Linked DNA regions of Homo sapiens: region 2 is linked to region 1. The links are contacts of gene promoters, found by promoter capture Hi-C in blood cells and fetal thymus (Javierre and others, 2016). All regions are on one chromosome and are shown on one strand. Each heading gives the region's core, a stretch centred on a gene start or on the middle of the fragment in contact. The rest is flanking DNA. Distances are from core to core; before and after follow the strand shown. Region 1 holds the start of LRRC1 (leucine rich repeat containing 1). Region 2 holds the start of ZNF451 (zinc finger protein 451).

The links. The method cuts DNA at HindIII sites, captures the fragments that hold promoters and counts their contacts. A CHiCAGO score of 5 or more calls a contact.
Region 2: the fragment with the promoter of ZNF451 here is called in contact with a fragment that was not itself captured in region 1 in 1 of 17 cell types (naive CD8 T cells); the score reaches 5.9 in naive CD8 T cells.

The regions. Positions count from the first base shown.
Region 1 is chr6:53,792,854-53,798,152 of GRCh38, forward strand. It overlaps LRRC1 (leucine rich repeat containing 1), which reads left to right and starts at 2,152. Exons shown (of 14, transcript NM_018214.5): 1 at 2,152-2,562. The coding sequence starts at 2,404. It overlaps LOC124901333 (a long non-coding RNA gene), which reads right to left and starts at 822. Exons shown (of 5, transcript XR_007059619.1): 1 at 688-822; 2 at 430-496. RefSeq lists silencers at 843-972, 2,018-2,257 and an enhancer at 2,224-2,936. The HindIII fragment of the contact is 950 bases long and covers 3,468-4,417 here.
Region 2 is chr6:57,088,267-57,093,140 of GRCh38, forward strand. It overlaps ZNF451 (zinc finger protein 451), which reads left to right and starts at 1,922. Exons shown (of 15, transcript NM_001031623.3): 1 at 1,922-2,008; 2 at 2,545-2,628. The coding sequence starts at 1,988. RefSeq lists enhancers at 1,591-1,740, 1,608-2,490 and a silencer at 1,911-1,980. The HindIII fragment of the contact is 8,135 bases long and covers 1-4,874 here.

The DNA of each region.
Region 1 (5,299 bases), core at 2,693-5,192:
TTCAAATTCTTGGCAGATTATTGGAAACAAGGAAAGTCAAGAATTCTCCCAGTGACTACCCATAGAATTAAATCAACAAAAACTGTTGATCATTGACTGTGCATATGGCACTGTGGCAGCTTCCCAGATCTACAAAGCAAGTGAGACAGTATCTGTTGTTTAAGAGGTCATAATCTCTTTCGGATTAAGGTGATACAAAAATAATAACACAGAGAAGCTGAAGCATCATGGAGAGGCACACAAGGAATGCTTATTGAGGTCTGAATTTTTAAAAGACTGGACACGTCTTTAAAATACATTTGGTGTTCGTTAAAATAATCTAGTGTGATAACCTCTGGAAATCACATTATTTTAAATGGAGGGAACTAGCCTTCTTTAATTTTTTTTTTAAAAAGCAGTTGGAAAACTTGAAGACAGGGACTTACTTACCTTTCCACATGTCTCTGTCAGGAACCAGTTTTCTAGGAAGGGTGGCAGAAATGAGCTTCATATGTTTCTGGAATGCAAGAATGTAGAAAGGGGGGTGGAGGTTCAAAGTCCAGGTAGCCCTCTGTGAGAACGCAGGAATCAAATCAGGACAAACAAAAGAAGGGTGAAGTGGGTAGGGCAACGGAGTTTCGGGATTGACTGGAATGAGAGTTAAGGTGATAATGCTGGGGTGGAAATGAAAGTCAGACCCCTCCTTACGGACTGGGAAGAAAGGAGCCCTCCTAGTAAAGTTGAAAAGACCAAGTGTCCTCTTCTCCATTTCACCGGGGAAACGCTCCTGTGCCTAGTCGTAAGGTACAGGAGAGTCTATGGAGCCCATGGAGAGTCTAATGCAAAAACTAGTTTCCGACCAAACTTTGCCTTGGCCACTGAGCATGCTCAGCTTTGTCTTCTATAGAAAAGTGAACTCCGTGGCTCCAGATTTTAGCTATAGCAGCTGGAGGGCGGGAGTGAGTGTGGGAGAGCCAGCGTGGCAGCGGCCGCAGGTGGAAACCTGGAGTTTGAGTATGCTTGAAAGGGAAAGTGTGGAACGAAGGGGCGGCCGGGTGGGGAATCAGAGAAGCCCCCAAGGAAATGATTCATCATTGTGATTGACCTTGACTTTAGCAACCCTTCATTAAAGGAGAAAATTTGGTTATTCGGAGATGGGGACTGTGTTGCAAACAGTTACAGGCAAAGAGGGGCAGTTCAGGATTCCGGCCGTGGTCCGCAGGAATGAGTCGGGGCGAGGGAATGGTTGTTATAACCCAATAGTGAGCCTCCCCGGTCATCCGGGCTGGACGGGACTGGGGTTGTAGCAGAAAAGCAGGAGCTGTATGGAGGATGCTCACCTGGCAGCCTCGATCTGCCCCTCTTCCCTCGCTCCTCCCTCCGCACCAGCCACAGCTAGTTGTCAGGGGCCAACATCTGGGCCGGGCTGGAACTGGCTCAGAAACTCGCGTTTGCCTGCTTATTTCTGCAGCTGGGCTCCTTGCCAGGTGCAACCACATCTATGAGAATCTCGCAGACTCTCAGACTCCTATGCCTTTGCTGGTACAGGGAGGAGGATTTACTATCACTCACTGCATAAACCATGATCACCAGAGATGTGCTCCCAAGTTACAAAGCCTGCAGGCGGTGCCCGAGGACCAGAGGGCCGGGCGCGGCCAGCTCACACTTCTGGGGCAGCCGTGAGCAGCGGGCACACGGGCAGCCACGAAAGCAGCAGCGAGGGTGGTGCAAACACCTCAAAACTACACCGAATCCAGTAGCGCCTGGCGCCCCCGGCGCGCAAGGTACGCTTTGGGGCGGTCCTGTGTGACCCCGGAAGAGAAAGTTGTTTTGGGGAAGGGGAGCAAGGAGAGGAGTGCGAGTTAAATAAAACTAAATATCAAAGTTGTTCTGCTCTGCTCAGGCCGCCTCTACTCCGCCTCATCTTTGTCCCAAGTCCTTTCACAGTCTGCCTTCCTCAAACGGCCCGATGCGCCCCCGTCTTTGCCGGAGTAAGCAGACCGCCAGCAGCCGGCCCGCAGGTCAGTCGACCCTCTCTGGATGCAGGTCGCCGGGAAAACCCGGAGCGGAGCATCCCTCGGGCCGGGAAACGCCCTCGGCGCGCACCCACTGGCGCGCATGCTCAGTCCGCGCGGCGGCTGCGAGTAGGAAGCTCCGCGCGGCGGCGGGGGCGGCGACGGCGACTGGCGGGTGGGAGTGGAGGCACCGGCTGGCGGGCGGGGGTACAGGGACGGGGCAGGGGCTCCCGCTCCAGGTTCCTTGAAGCACTTCCGACCGCGAAGCCCGGCGCGAGAAGCGAGCTAACCCAAGAGCCAACAACGAGCGCGGAGAGGGCAGCGGACTGAGCGGAGCCGCCGGCCAGAGCGGGCTCGGAGCCCGGGTCTCCGCCGCTCGGGACCCGGCTAGGCGGCGGCGGGGGCGGCGATGTTCCACTGCATCCCCCTGTGGCGGTGCAACCGTCATGTGGAGAGCATCGACAAGCGCCACTGCTCGCTGGTCTACGTCCCCGAGGAGATCTACCGCTATGCCCGGAGCCTGGAGGAGCTGCTGCTGGACGCCAACCAGCTCCGCGAGCTGCCCGAGGTAAGGGTCCGGCCTCACCTGAGCGCTCTGCCCGCTCGTCTGCTGTCCCTTCCGCTCCCATCCTCTCTCGTCCCCTCTTCCATCTCCGGGTCCGGCGTGAAGGAACCTTCCCTCTTTTATGCATTCACCTGCTTCTTTCTCCCCCTGTCTCTTTACTTCCATCCTTTCCCAGTAAAAGTTCCTTTTCATTTTATTCAAAGTGACCGGATATTTTGCGCGTAGTCACTGGGGCTCGTGCTATTGGAGAAGCGTTCTGGACTGTTAAGTAACTTAGATCCATGCTAGGTACTGACACCTGGCACTTGTGCCCGGTCAGGTGAGAAGCCGGGTGATTCGGGCTGTTTCCATCTGGAAGCTACAGAGCACTGCATCCTCCCCCCCTCCACTCCCCGGGGTCGTTCCCCCACCAAGGGCCGGGCGCGCCTCTCCTTTAGTCAAGGCATGTCCCGGAGGACCTTGTGACCTGGGCAGCGCTCAAGCGGGCCGCACTATCTCGGCATCTTGGGAGGAATGAGGAATGTGCTCCGTGCTTTATCGCGGGTGGGCTTGGCCGGCTGGCCTGCGGTGGCTGCGGGGGTGGACGCGAGATGGGCGCAGGGGAGAGCTGGGCCTGGAGCGCTAGGGGCAGGTGCCCAGATGCCGGCCGCCCGGGCCTTGCCTACGTGGACCTGTTGCGTGGTGGGAGCTGCGGTGAACGTCAGCGGAGGCTCTGCCCGCGGGCCAGCCTTGCAGCCGCCTTTCCCGGAGCGGGCACAGTCGTCCTGCTGACTTTCTCTCCTTGCAGTGATGCGTTATCTCTTCAGAGTTGTTTATGTAAATTGATCACTCCATTGCCGCCGAACTTGTCAAGCGACATGTGCTGATGGTGCTTTGACCGAGAGTAGGGGTACAGCGAACTTCTTTCAAGCTTGCCTCGGGAACTTAGCTAGAGTAACCCCTCGGGGAAGGTGTCTCAAACCCAGGTGTGTGCAGGAAGTCGGTGTGCAATAATCCAAAGGTGTGCAGGAAGTAGGGAGACTGCTGGCAGTCGGGGATTGGACCTGTTTTAGGCCTGAGCTTTGGAACGCAAACTTCTTGTTGCCCTTTAGTTAACACAAGCCAAATCATTGTCACAGAAACACTAGTCAAGTGTTCTGACTTGTTAGAATGACCTGATACGTTCTCCAGCGCTGATGGAGCATTTAAACAATAAGAACTGTGTGTTTTTCTCAATATTTTAAGTGGTGGTGTTCTTCTTGGATTAACTTTCCTGGGTTCATGTGGAATTGATTGGATGTTTGCTCTGTGTAATCATGGAGATTATCCTCACTAGGACCTTTGCAAAGCCCCCCAGGCTTTATTTAGCTTAGAAGCAGCAAAGCCATCAAGTTCCCTCAGGCGTTTATTATTTCGCAGGCATTTTCAAACACATGATTTTTTTCTGGCCTTTTACGTCCTTGAAGATTTCTTACCAGTCGTCAGCTCCCTCACTGCTTTAAGTTGTGTAATTTTAGGCAGTGATATCACCAGGAATATAGAATATGTAATTTAATAGTTTTCAGGGGCTTCAGGATGACATTATTGAAGATGGAGTGAAAAGTTATTCACTAGAAATGATTCATTGCTCTTTGTGGTATTTGTTTTTTTGTTTTCTTTTGTAGAACTGGAAGATTTCCTTTGACTGGATTGGCTTTTCACTCCCTTCTGCAGGGTTTGTGGGTTTTCCTGTAATGTTGGGGAATTCAGCTTGGCATGGGAAATTACATAATTTCCCATGCCAAGCCGAAATGTCAGGTCTTTCTGTGATCCTAAATGGAAACTTGTCAGAATCTCAAAATATAGTCTGATGGCACTCTGTAAATATGGTAAATAAACAAGCTTTTCAAAGGTTACAGGTGATCTTGCTAATGGATTATTATTGCTCTAACAGCTGTTAAATTAGTATTAAAGTTTTTAGGTTGTGTAAAATCTACTTCTCCCTGACTTATTGTGTGTCTTGGTGCCTGGGTGTGTACATGCCAGACATGAGAACCACCTTGCAAACATAGATATCTGTTCCATCCCTTCCATTCTTTCCTTGGGCTATCTGTTGTCTCACCTCTGAGATCTGTATAACTTATTACCACTGGTCTCTGCTGCTCCTGCTCCAAACCCCTGTCTCCTTACCTGCCACACACAAGCGCATCTGTTTTGTTCACAAGCCTCAAAGGTCCTTATTTTGGTGGCCATACCAGCTGTATGTTCTCCTCTCTATAATTTGTTTGGAAGCACAGCTTAAGGGGAAGCCGGTACCCCTTACCAGGGCAGCAAAGATGCACTCTCCAGGTTTCAGTGTAATAACAGCCACCTTCTTTCCACTGAAAGGCCTGCAACTTCTGGTTTGCGCCAATATCTTCCTTTTACAAATTCAGATTCAGAATTGAGGTGACTTTCTCAGGGCTGTCCAGTGAGTTAGATGCAGTTGCTGGTGGGTCTTGTTCATTCAGATGTCAGCCAAATACAATTGCTTTGGACACCTAGCAGGAATCTTCTATCCTGCTTCTCACACCCATCAAATCTTTATTTAGTCTCTCCTGTTTTACTCATGTCATTATAACTTAGCCTTAGCCAAGCATTTATTGAGACTCCATTATTTACAAGTTATTGGGAATATAGAGATTAAAGGAGGCATGATTCACATCTTTGGGAGGAAGCAGATGATTTTAATCCAGATGTAGTTAGTGTGGGATGGAAAGGACACCACGGTTAAACTACTCCT
Region 2 (4,874 bases), core at 672-3,171, 3.3 Mb after region 1:
GTAGTTCTTTATAGCAGTGCAAGAACGAATACAACATGGTTCTAATTATCCTATATATTTCTTGAATTTTTGAAAAATATGCTTTGAGAAATGTTAGGTAAACATTTTCAGTGGAGATAAAACACTGTAATGTTATCTTTATAGCATACATACCAAAATTTAAACATTACATTCCCCAATTATTAGACATTTAGATATTTTCCAGTTTTTGCTGTTATAAAAAAACCTGTGATGTATCTTCAGGAAAATCCCTGCAACTACAGTTACTGAGTTGTATGGTGTGAGAAGTTTTTGGGTCTAGCCACATACTGCTTGTTTTCCAAGAATTTTACCCATTAACTCCTGCCTCAACTGATTAAATATTAGAGGACACTTTCACCAGCCCACTAGGAAGAGCTTTTAAATACAAGTTTTGCCTACACATTAACGTTTTAAAAATATTTAATTTACACACAGCTTTTGAAGAACTCCCCATGCACGTCTGTCATTCTCAATTGGCTTCCACAAGTCTCAAACTTACTAGGTAGAAAGTAACTAAAGTCATAAAGCACTTGGTGGAAATGCAGGAAATGTCAAATATTAAACAATAATTACTACAGGCTTAGGCAATCAGATGGTAGTTTTGCATACAAACAAAAACAGGAATCTGAGATGTTAAATAATTTGTGTTTTTTTTTTTTTTTTTTTGAGACAGTGTCTTGCTCTGTCACCCAGGCTGCAGTGCAGTGGCATGAATTTGGCTCCCTGCAGCCTGGATCTCAATCTCTCGGCCTCAAGCGATTCTCCTACCTAAACCTCCTGAGTAGCTGGGACTACAGGCAAGGACCACTACGCCTAGCTAATTTTTGTATTTTTTGTAGAGACGAGGTTCCCTCTTATTGCTCAGGCTGGTCTCGAATTCCTGGGTTTAAGTGAACCGCCCGCCTCGGCCTCCCAGAGTGTGAGGACCCGCCTGGCCTAAAATAATGTTATCACTTAATTCTTTTCATAAACTTTATTGACAACGATTGGTGTGTTTTTTTAAAAAACCTTTTTAAATTTTTGGTAAGGTATTACCTGAGAACAGATTAAATGCATAGTTGAATATAAAAGATCTATTTTATAGACTGGTTTATGAGTGTGAACACACAAAAGGTTAAAAGGTCAACCTTACAGCAGTCTATAAATAGATCTCTCATATTCTCTCAGTATATCTGAGAATATTGAAAAAGTGCATTTCAAAATCACTGGCTAGGGTTTAGTGATAGTTAGGTAGACCTCGGTTCCCTTTCCTATTGGGCCCTGGATTTCCCATCCCTATTTTCTTCCTCAGGTGTATTAATACTGGCAGGGCCTGGGAGACTGACGCTAGGGAAGAGGTGTGTAATGTAAGGATACTTCAGATTCTTTCCTGATCCTAGGATTCAGCTAAACCTCCACATAGCCCCTGTCCTCAAAAATGAGTAAATACATAAATTTAAAAATGAAAGGAAAAAAAGAGAAATCCGTTCCCACCACCCACCTTCAGGGCTAAAACAGAAAAATCAATGAGCTGCGCTTCACAACCATACCAAAACCAAACAAATACCAACTCAAACCCTCCTTCACATCCTCCCACATCTTCCCAGTGCTTCGCTATCTCACAGGACCCAGCTGGCCCCTGGCTTCGCCCCACCCACTGCAGCTGGCGTCTTTTAGGCGCATGGTTCTTTTCCTCTCCGGCGAGGGGCGGTCTCGGGGCGGACCCGAACTACAATTCCCAGCATCCTGCGCGGCGCGGGGAAGGAAGCCCGGGAGTGAGAGAAAGCGGCTCCGGGGGCATAGCGGGCCAGTAAGGGCCGCTCCTCCTTTGAAGAGGTTTTGCGTCTCTTTCCGCCGGTGGCGTCGGCGCTCACGCAGGGGCGGGTCCCGGTAGCGCCAGGCGGTGCAGGGCGGGAAGGGGATTCGTGGCGACGGCGGCGGCAGGGACAGCAGGAGCAGTGGTGCTGTCAGCGCGGCCGTCGGAGACATGGGAGACCCGGGGTCGGAGGTGAGTAGTCGAGTGAGGGTCCTGGCGTTCTCAGAGGCGAACCGCGAAGGGTTTGTGTTTTCTGCGGTCTGAGGCCTGGTGCTCCGTCGCAGCCTCGGGGCGATACCTCTTCAGTGTCTTGGGCCGAGCCCAGCTCTGGGGCCTGGTGCGTGTCTGAGCGAGGAACCCGCAGCAACAATGGCCGCCCGGCCCCCCGCACGGGCCCTGGCGTTCGTTGTGGCCGCGGCTGGGCCAGTGGGAGCGACGTTTTAAGGCAGGATTGCCCTTCGGTGTTGAGCTTGCGTTCCTCCTGGAGTAGATAAGGGGAATTGTGAGAGGCTGGTAACTAACGCGTTTTCAGCGTTGGGTCCCTGCAGCTCCGCACACTCTGTGGCAAGAGCCAGAGCTCGAGTTCCGTTCCTAGTCGGGTTTCCGTGAAATTGTGCTCAGTTCGTTTTCCTCAAGAGCTCTCTGTCTTTAATTGTTCCTTTCGGAAACGCTCTCTTCCTACACGAATGTGGCTGAACAGATAAGCATGTTTTGGCTTGTTTTTATAGATAATAGAATCTGTCCCTCCAGCTGGCCCTGAGGCATCTGAGTCAACAACGGATGAAAATGAAGACGACATTCAGTTTGTCAGTGTAAGTAGCAATGATGATTGGGGTTTTCCCAGAGTAAAAGACTATGGTGGGCCATTATGTAATGTTACCTCACCTGGTCATTTAATGTTCATGAGTGTCTAATACATACTAGACACTGGAGCATGGCGCAGGATTGGGAAATTTACCAAAAGAGCTATCTGAGCCACCCCCGTAGCCATCACAAAGAGCACGTCCTAAAGAACGTGCTGTACACTTAATCTCGCCCCCTGCCTTTCATTTAAACTTAAGATAAAAACGCTGGTGTCTAAAACGCTGTTTTGAAATGGAGCAAGAGTAACTTCTAAAGGCGACACGGAGGAAGGAGCTGCTAATGATGAGCAAGGACGTAGAAAACAGGAAGGGTTGTGAGAGCCCAGAATCTTAGCGTTATGGTGCTTCTAACATGAAGGCAAATAGCTTGAAGATTTCTCTAACCTCTGAGATCATCATGTTACGGCATAGTACAGTTGATGCTCATAATGAAGAATCCTACATCACTGGGAACATGCTCTATTTTTCTGAGTTTGTTCCCTTTGAGACAGTAGTTTTCAAGCCTTAGTAAGTATAAACAGGCAGATTCCTGGGCCCCACTGCAGACCTACCGAATCAGAATTTCCAGGCGGGGGCCTAGGAATCTTCATTTTCAGACAAGTGCAGGGACATAAGGATTTCTGAGCACACTTTGTACAGCATGGGTTTCCAAAGCAGAAGAGAGTGTTTTATGATGTATTTTGGGGTGATTTTCTTCCATAATTATTGGAGTTTTAGAAAGGCTTTGCGTAAAGTGGTATCTCAGCTCGCCAGGCAGAAAACGGTTCTGTCCCCAACTCGTCTTTTGGAATGCCGTAGTTAGTTGCAGTTTGGTATTCAAGCTGTAGAATTTTTCGTTGAGTGTCAGATGTGCATTTATGGTGGATGCTGGGAAACCTTGTAAAATTGGTTATTAAACAGTTTCTTTCCCAGCATTAGGGCCATTTTGGTAATTCATTTTTGTATGGTATTTTAATAGATTTGTTTAGGAGTCCTTCACAAGATTGTTTTATTGAATTTCTTTCCCTTTACCAGTGTATGTTGTACTCTCTCCTTTTCATTTTGATCTTCTACGGATTTGGAGTAGAGGATGGGGGTGAATTGTATCCTGTCCTTTCCTTCACCATGCGCTGAAGTATGTTTAATAACAGGTTTCCATGGCTCTTGAGGACAGATATTTCAGGTTCTTCCTGAATCTTGGTATATTTGTGAAGAGAATTTTTTTCTTATGGTGTTTAGTAGAAATAATACTAGGAATGACATACTTCTTTATGAACTATGGCCCTTTTTGAGAAACACGAGTAGCATCTCTTAATATTTGAAAAATGTTTTGTGTAATGAATTACAGTGTAGCTTGTGACTAGTTAATGTAGGCTTGAGTTCACCTTTGGTTTAAAGGAGTCTTTAAATTTTATGTTGAATGTAGAGGATCACTTCCGTCTTTGCATCAAGAGTAAAGAATGTACAATCATTGAATATCTGACATGATACAACTTCTTACTCTTGTTCCCAAATAAAGGTTCAGAGGTTTGACAGTTCCACATGGAGAAGTGAATTATATGTTGTAAGTGTAATTACAATACTAGAAGAAGCCTATTAAAAATTTTCCCTTTACATTTAAGTGGCACCACTTACATGACAATAATAGCTTAATTATATTTCAAAATATATTCAGAGACAGAATCTTTACTTTTCTCTGGAATCCAATCCTATATGTGGCTCCTCCAGTCAGTAATGCTTATTCAGTAAAGATGAAAAAGTTTGATTTTTTCAGATAAAAAATGAGTATTGTGATGTTACTTCTTCGTTTTTACGGTTTGGATTTCATAGCTCTTACTAACCTAATTTTCCCACTTTTAGTCCACTTGGTGGCCCAGGAGTTATTCTGTGATTTGTAGAATACAGAATCTGAAACTAAACACAGCATGCTGAAGGAAAGGAGTGATATAGATATGGAGGGGGGTGCAAAAATGGGCCCTCTCATTTAAATTTTATTGAAATATACATAAAAGTGCACAATTCATAAGTATACTTGTTGGATAAAGTTTTGCAAAGCCTCATACATCTATGTAAACAGCGCCTAAATCAAGAAACAGAATGCTGCCATAACAAAAACTTCTTATTTAGGTCTGTTGTTCTTATTTCTGTTTAGTAATATGATCCTTTATTCAACTACTGTTTTTATATCTTTCTTTGAAATTGCAGATTTTTTATGT